Regions from separate parts of the Homo sapiens genome. Here region 1 is linked to region 2. Evidence: promoter capture Hi-C in 16 types of primary human blood cells and fetal thymus (Javierre and others, 2016). All regions are on one chromosome and are shown on one strand. Each heading gives the region's core, a stretch centred on a gene start or on the middle of the fragment in contact. The rest is flanking DNA. Distances are from core to core; before and after follow the strand shown.

The links. The method cuts DNA at HindIII sites, captures the fragments that hold promoters and counts their contacts. A CHiCAGO score of 5 or more calls a contact.
Region 1: a contact is called between a fragment that was not itself captured here and the fragment with the promoter of LINC01181 in region 2, in 6 of 17 cell types (endothelial precursors, megakaryocytes, M1 macrophages and 3 more). The highest score is 8.4, in endothelial precursors.

The regions. Positions count from the first base shown.
Region 1 is chr8:103,430,657-103,434,741 of GRCh38, forward strand. It overlaps DCAF13 (DDB1 and CUL4 associated factor 13), which reads left to right. Exons shown (of 11, transcript NM_015420.7): 6 at 1-33; 7 at 2,003-2,085. Among named protein-coding and RNA genes, the nearest start is that of DCAF13, 17 kb to the left of the region's middle. The HindIII fragment of the contact is 1,118 bases long and covers 2,050-3,167 here.
Region 2 is chr8:103,119,299-103,123,470 of GRCh38, forward strand. It overlaps LINC01181 (long intergenic non-protein coding RNA 1181), which reads left to right and starts at 1,734. Exons shown (of 6, transcript NR_145429.1): 1 at 1,734-1,915. RefSeq lists an enhancer at 2,771-3,272. The HindIII fragment of the contact is 1,509 bases long and covers 385-1,893 here.

The DNA of each region.
Region 1 (4,085 bases), core at 1,359-3,858, 310 kb after region 2:
TACGATATGAGGCAAGCTACTCCTTTGAAAAAGGTGAGTTTCAGTTTTGACTTTTGCTTTATACAGTTGGCATTATATATTTCTCTGTAAATAGAGTGACTAACAATATGGAGCAAATATTTTCTCAGAATTAAAAAAATCTTTTATACAGGTGTTCTTAGAACTCTACATGATGATAGTCATGTTCTTTCAGCTCCCTATTGCTTTTTAGAGACTCTTAAATTTCTGCTAGGTATTGTATCCTAGTCACCAACCTTGTGTCTTCCATGATGCCAGTACATTTTAGGCCTCTAATTAATACTTACTGAATTGAAAGTTCTTAAAGGTATTGCATCCTGTTACTTAACAGTGTAATAATATTCAAATAATATTCAATAAATTCAAGCCCCATGATTATCGTATGACATGTACACTATTTTATTCCAGAAGGTTTTAGAACTCATTCACGTAACCAGCTTTATTTGTTCAGTTACATGCTGATCAATACTAGTTTGACATTTAGGCAACCACTATCCTGTTCAAAGTAACAGATTTCCTAACAATTCTAAAGTAGTAATTTCAGGACTTACATATCAGAGCTAATAATACAACTTAAGCTAACTCTCAAGAGGGAGACAGATACTGTCTGTAAGTAAGGAAAGGAGTGCCATTGTAAGTAAAAGGGTATAAAGTTTATTTCAGGTACTAGAATTTTGAGTGACAGAAAGGGCTGGACATCATTGAGATGCCACAAGTCTGTTGTCGTAGTCCACATACAAAAGAAATGCTTTTAATACTTGCTTTTGTTATTCCTAAATCATTTTTATAACGTAACAACTAGATATTAGGAGAGTACATTCATTGAAGTTTGAAGTAGATAAATATGATAATCTTTCCAAAGTACCACTTATATGATTTCACTCATTCATGTGATTTAATGGGAAGATCCTATATGAACTTTGGTCTTAGACTTTTAAGCACGTTAACCTAAAATGTGTTTCTCCTGTAAGGTGGTGGTATTAATAACTATCTCGCAGCACTTCGCTGAGAATAAAACATGATACTTTAAGCATTTAGCAGAATGCTGACATGAGGTACTAGTTTAATGAATAGTCATTTCTGCCCCCTCCCACCTACCTAACACTCATTCTGTTTTTTTTTTAATTTAGTTTATTTTTCATTGTTATTGCCTCCTGCTTTGCACATTCTCAGTTTTTAATGGAGCTCCATTAATTTTAGGTTGAAGAAAATGTAGCCTGGCTTTCAAGGTGCTCTGAAATCTGGTTCTAATTTGCAACTCATTTATTTCTTTTAGTCAGTTAGGTAACATTGAATTGGAGTTTGTCACATGCAGGTCACTTTGATAGATGTAGGGATTGTTAGACACTGCTACTTTCTGTTGCTTCTTTGCTCCATCTACTAGTCTATCAATGTTTCTTTTATCCTTTCTCTCATAAATGTAGTAGTTCTTAGTCAGGGATTGTAGTCCCCTACCAGGTACAGTTCTGGGAATGCAAGAGGGACATGTAGTGGGAGGTCCCTGAGTGGCAAAACATCCTACAGTGGATAGTCATACACAACAAAAGATAATCCTGCTCAAAATGCCAACAGTGTTCCCATTGAGAAACACTGAATTACTGATCCTTCACAGGTCAGTTCAAATCATACTTGTCTTTAGAAACAGTTCTTTATGTTAACCCTAAGCTCACCATTAATTTTGCCCCTAATTTGATACTTAGTCATTTGTTACTTTATTGTTTATATTTTAACTTTTATTATGTGTCACATTTTTCTGACTAAACTGTAAGTTGTTTGAGATTAGGAGACTGGGAGTTAAGCATTTCTATTTTTATATTTACTATTCTGCCTGTGTATTTAAGAAGCAATTACTGATTGATTTCTCTTCCCATTGCACTGAGCTGAGTACTTTACACATAATAGGTGTTTATGAAATATTTGCTTAAATCAGTGGGGAAAAGAAAAGGAAAGGAAGTGGGAAATTCATCCATTCTTCCTTTCTCAGGTTATCTTAGATATGAGAACAAATACAATCTGTTGGAACCCTATGGAAGCTTTCATTTTTACAGCAGCAAATGAAGATTATAAGTAAGTTTCCCTCTTTTAAAAACTTGTGTATTTCTATCATGAATGGCTTAATTGTATAAGTCGTACTAATAAAATATATACCACTAGGTAGGTATACCTATAAAGTTTGAAAACTGTCATCTGTTTAGCTTTAAAAAGTTTTCCAAATTGGAGAAGAACTTCTTAGAAAAGTATTTATTTCGTCAGTATTTAGAATGATGTAGACCAGGGACAGTAAACAACTCGTGGACCAAATCCTTTCTGTTGCCTGTTTTTTATAAAGTTTTATTGGAATATGGCCACACCCACTTACTTATTTAGATATTGGATATGGCTGCTTTTGTGCTATAATGCCTGAGTTGAATAGTTGCAGCGGAGACCTTATGGCCCACTTGCCTGAAAATGTTTAACATTTGGCCCTTTACAGAAGAAGTTGGCTGATGTTTGATGTAGGTCTTATAAATAATGACTGAACCATACATGTTTTAATGGAAATGAAAATATCTGCCTGCAATGTTTGTATTGCGGTGAGTATCAGGTAGCTGATGCTCATGTGGTCATGTTATCAGCTATCACTGTTCAGTCAGATGGAAGAAAAATTATAGTTATCTTTTCAGTATCCATATGAGGTAGGTGGGACATGCATGTTATCCCCTTTTTAAGATATTAAAGCGGGGAGATTAGTCTCCCAGGGAGGAAAGAGTATCTTATCTTTTTTTTTCCCAAAGCATTTATTATAGCGCTATGCCTTTGATAGATTCTTAATACATGTTTTTTTTAAGAAGGCAGAAGTTTGTTGGTGGATTGAACTTTAGATCTTTGTATTGTTTTATGTTCCACTATGTAGATTTGGAAGCAAAAAAGTAGTAGTGTTAGCTCATAAAAGGATTTATTATATGATGTTTTAGTGGTACCAACTAAAAGCATCTTTTATGACTTTCTGCTAAAAAGAGGTTTAGTCCAGGAGTTTGAGGTTACAGTGAGTTGTAATTGGGCCACTGCACTCCAGCCTGGCCAACAGAACAAGACCCTGGTGTCTTAAAAAAATAAAAGAAGCTCAGTTAGACTCTCATTAACTAGCAATACCAAACCACAGTAATTGAAGCTTTTTTTTTTAACCTTTATTGATGTTTTGAAATTAAGTGGCATTGTTCCAGTTAAAGGCAATAAAAGACAAGAGTAATACAGCATTATTGTGACCAACCTCATTAAGATTTCTAAAGAATGTTCTAATAAGCTATTTTAGCAAGGTACCGTTTTTCAGAGTGTCCTCGGAATTTCTCATTCCTTGCCTTGAAAAGAATTGCATATGCCACCTGAAACAAAGAGCATATCCCTTATAATAAGTGACTGTTGGAGTATCATAATTGCTCTTTGAAAATGATCTTGCTTTTGTATCCCTTTTCTATATTTGTAAGTATTTTTTTCTTTTATTGCCCTTTAGATATTCTAGTCATTCTGAATTAGAAACCTAAGTTCAAGTCTAGGCCGACCAGTAATTACTGTATAAACTTGGGCAAGTCATTTAAACTAACTCTATATCATAGTTTCAGCATCTGTAAGGTGAGGGTTAGAATAGATGATCCCTAATGAATCCTATAATGTGGAACTTTGTTTATTTAAAGGTTTTCCATGTACACAAATTGATATGCTTAGAATTGGAATTCTTATCATTTTTCCCATGTAGAAATAAAGCATCTTACTAAAAAGCAGTTTGCTGGAACCAAGCAAACCTAGCTGAAAACCACTGTTCTTAGGCAGGAACTGTAAAGCAGTTGTCAATGTCTTACTACTAGTAATGTTAACCTTGATCATTTGGTTAGGGTGGTGTCTGCCAGGTTTCTCCACTAAAGAGTTACTTTTTTTTCCTTTTGTAATTATTATATATCTTTGGGGAGATACTTTGAAACTATGTAGATATCCTCTTCTCAGACTTCTACTCACTAATCTTAGCATCTTCAAGTATTTTTATATTAGGAACTTGGTCACAATATTGCTGTATTACTTTTGTCCATTGTTCA
Region 2 (4,172 bases), core at 484-2,983:
ACTAAAAATACAAAAAATTAGCTAGGCATGGTGGCGGGCACCTGTAATTCCAGCTACTCGGGAGGCTGAGGCAGGAGAATCGCTTGAACCCAGGAGGCGGAGATTGTAGTGAGCCGAGATCATGCCATTGCACTCCAGCCCGGGTGACAGTGCAGGATTCTGTCAAAAAAAAAAAAAAGAGAAGTTATGGAAAACTGTGATGCTGCAGTGAAATGAAATCAGGCTGCTATGTGTCAGGCTGCGATGTGGGGCCCTGTGTCCTGAGTCACACACCAAAACAGGAAATCCCCTATTCTCATCTTGAAAAATTTATTAGTAAAATAAAGTAAATAAGACCAAGAAAAATAAGGCTGCTATTATTTGAATCATTTAGTGAAAAAGAAAAGCTTTCTAGAACCAACAGAACATGGTAATGAACACTCTGCCCCCATACTTATCAGTCTGTATTGGCATTTTCTGTGTAACATACCTTTCTTTCCTACTAGAAACAGTTTCTCTAGTTCAGGATCTATGTCTTATTTATCAACTCCCAAAACTGTCCCTTCTTTGAATTCCTTTGATACTTAATACCCAAGTCACTCATTTGGCATTTATGTTACCTTGTATGGTCTATTGTATTTCTATTCTGTTTATACATAGTGACTCTTGAACTAGACTATAAACTCCTTCGAGGTAGAAGTCTTGCTTTGAACATTTTGTGTCCCCATTTGTTATTTGTTGAAAACAAGGCATGCCAAGGAAGGTGCTAAGGGCTGGATATGGGATAAGAGACCCTGGTCTACCTTTGGGGATTCACAATCTGGGGAATTTCCTCAGGCAGGGCACAAAACCTATGAGACAATCCTGCTTTCCTGCTGAACTTGGACCTGGGACAGGGTGGGGATGGGTGAGGCTGGAGCTGCTGCAGCAGCGTGCCTCCAATGCCTATAAATTTCCTGTTGGCTCTCATCCGTCTGGGCTGAATTTTCTATCAACCAATAGAAAATACAGACAGGTATTATGAAAGAGGGTGTTAGGAAATCCCATGCAATTATTATACATGTCACAAATGTGTGGGTGCATATGCACCTGTGAGTGTGTGACAGACAGAGAGGGAGGAAGAGCACTAGGAGGAAATGCCATCTGAACTGAATCTTGAAAGACAAACGGGAGTTAACGAAAGATGTTCCTGAGAGAGTGGCAGGTCTGTGCTTGCATCCTGATGTCAGAGTCAGATAAACTCCAGAAGCCTCAGGGCCTCTGCACTCTATCCCAGTGCTTCCCCAAACTCCTGTTGAGGGCAGACTCTTTTAGAATATGTTAACGAATGGATGTGCAGAAGAAAACTATCTTCTGAGAACAAAATTGCTCTAGTTTCTGCATTGCTGGTTTTCTCTGAACCTTTAATATGCTGATAGGCACTCAACAACAGAATCCTTTGTTGGCAGAGCACAAATTACCCTCTGTCTGTTGAACAGTTTCAGAAAGTTTATGAAGCACTTTTCAATGAGGTGTGGAGTAATAAATGATTCAGCAACACTTAAGTCCTGCCACCCTAGGCCTAACTGGTTACACTGTCATGAAAATTTACAAATTACATGGTACCAAAGACAATATAAACACAATCTATTGGGTAAACAATTGCATGATGGATTACTGTAGACTTATCAATAGTTATGGCATAATTCAGTCTTTATTTTTGCATATGAAAGGCTCTCACGCAAGCATTTTTCTGTAGCTCATTGGAATACAGTACAGATGGCCTGGATCAGTGCAATGTGCAACAAGAGGACTATATCGTCTCAGTAAAAACCTTGAAGAGATGAACCCATTTCAGAGACCCAGCAAGGGATCACCTGCATATACAGGCATCAGCAGAAACAGGAATTTGGGATTTATCCTGGAGGTAGTGGAAGCTTTTGGAGGTCTTAACCAGGTGAATGCAATGATTGGGTATATTTTAGAAAGCTCATTCACAGGGAGAGAGGACTTGAAGCGGGGTTGTTACTAGAGACAAAGAAACTAGTTAGGAAGTTATTTCAGGTAATGAGGGAGACATAATTTAGGGGCTAAACCAAGGAAGTGACAATAGGAATGGAGAGAAGGCACAGCTTGCGAAGCATTTAGGTGGTAGAACTGATTGACTCAGCTCTGAGGCAGCTGTGGGGGTGAGAAGCTGGGGTGGGTGAGGGTGGGAAGAGGGTGGGGAGGGTTGGAGGAGTCAAGAATGAACCATGACTTCTGGTTCGTGCAACAGAGTGAAGAGCTGAGGCCCCATGGTTTCCAGGCAGCCTGTGCCAGTGAGAGAAATGCAGAATAGAGTTTGATTTGAACTCTGGCTCTGTCAACGACTTGGTACTATGGCCTTGTGCAAGCAAGTTAACGTCTCCAAGCCTTACTTTTATCTTTTGTAAAATGGGACGATGATACCCCGCTCTTGCATGTGTGAAATAACTAACACATAGTCTGTGCTTCAGAAGTGAAGTCACTGCTACTCAGAGAACACAGAAGGAGAAGCAGTTTACAGAGAAAGATGAGTTTCATTTCAGAAACACTGCACTTGAGGTGGCTTGGACAGCCATGTGGAGGTGTCCAGTAAGGCATTAGATATATAGGTATGGAACTCAGGAGAAAGATCTGGGCTGGAGAGAGTTCTAGGGGCCACTGACTTTTTGATATTAGGCCAAGGCAAGGAGGTAAATGAGAACAACCAGAGAGAGTGTGGAGAGGGAGAGAAATGCAGGCCCTAACGGACGGCCTTGGGAGCATCACCATTCAACAGCTGAGGAAAGGAAGCAGAGCCGGCAAGGGAGATGTTCTGGAGCCTGCAGGGCTGTGCAGTCAGAAGGAGGCGCAAACCAGAATCTGAAGACGCAGGTTTGAGTCTCAGCTCCCTTGCTGACTAGCTGTGTGATCCTCGCAATTCAGGTAACCTCTGTAAGCTTGTCTTCTCATTCGTCAAATGGGAATGCTGCTGATAATGTCTACTTCCTGGAGACTTTGGTGAGCTAAGGTGTATAATTTTTTTTTTTAAGCTAGAGAGCCTTATAAGTGGTTCCATGTGGTCATTTTTTCCCCCTAGACTGAATCGGCTTACATCTAAAAGCAAGGTCACTTTAAGAGGGTCTCTGTGACTCTGGCCTTGCTTGCTCAGCAGGAATTCCAGCCTGCTCAAATTCCTCTAGGCAGCTCTGGGATCCCTGGGCAGGAGGTACAGTACCTGATGCCTGAGTGCCCCAAACCCCTTCCGAGGAAACGGGGCCTTAAGCACAGGCCCTCACGTTGTCCCACTTGACTTCACCACCCTGGCTACACCTGGTGGGAATTGGGATGGGCCCTGTTCCCAGGGGAGCTGACCAGCTGACCAGCCGACCAGCCAGCAGCTCCCCACGTCTGCCCGGGGTGAGACAGGAGAATACGGTCTGGAGGCAGGGAACATAAGACTGATTCATGCTGACTTCCTAGAACTAAATCAAATGGAAATACTTCAGCTATTACAGGAAATATCCTCACCATTGACACAAGGCGTAAACCCAGTAAATGTCTTTGTAACTTTACTTGATCCTCTTCATTTACACAGGGCGTACACCAAGTAACCAATGGAAACCTCTAGAGGGTATTTAAACCCCAGAAAATTCTGTAACAGGGCTCTTGAGCCCCTATGCTCGGGGCCACTCCCACCTCATTTTCAATAAATCTCTGCTTTTGTTGCTTCATTCTTTCCTTCCTTTGTTTGTAACTTTGTCCAGTTCTTTGTTCAAGACCCCAAGAACCTGGACACCCTCCACTGGTAGCAAGGGGGCCATGTGATAGAGATCCTGCCCCTCTCCTGTATGGACATTTGGACTCAGCAAGCGAGGCCAGAGTCACAGAGACCCTCTTAAAATGACCTTGCTTTTAGATGCAGGCTGATTAGTTGCCAAAGCCCAGCAACTGGCAGGATGGGAGACATGGTGACAGTGTCTGGGTGGCTCATGGAGCCCCTCACAGCCATGGGTGGTGGCAGGAAATGGGCAGAGGTGCCTGGTGCCCAGGGTGGGGCTACTCTCCACCTGCCTTTGTCAGGCTGCTTCCCAGTTTCTTTTTTTTGGTCTGTGTTCTTGTGTGTCTCACAATGCACTCCATTTGTTAAAGTAACTTGAGAACGTGGCCATGTCTTGTGGCTTAGAGGAGGCTAATTGTCACGGGAGACT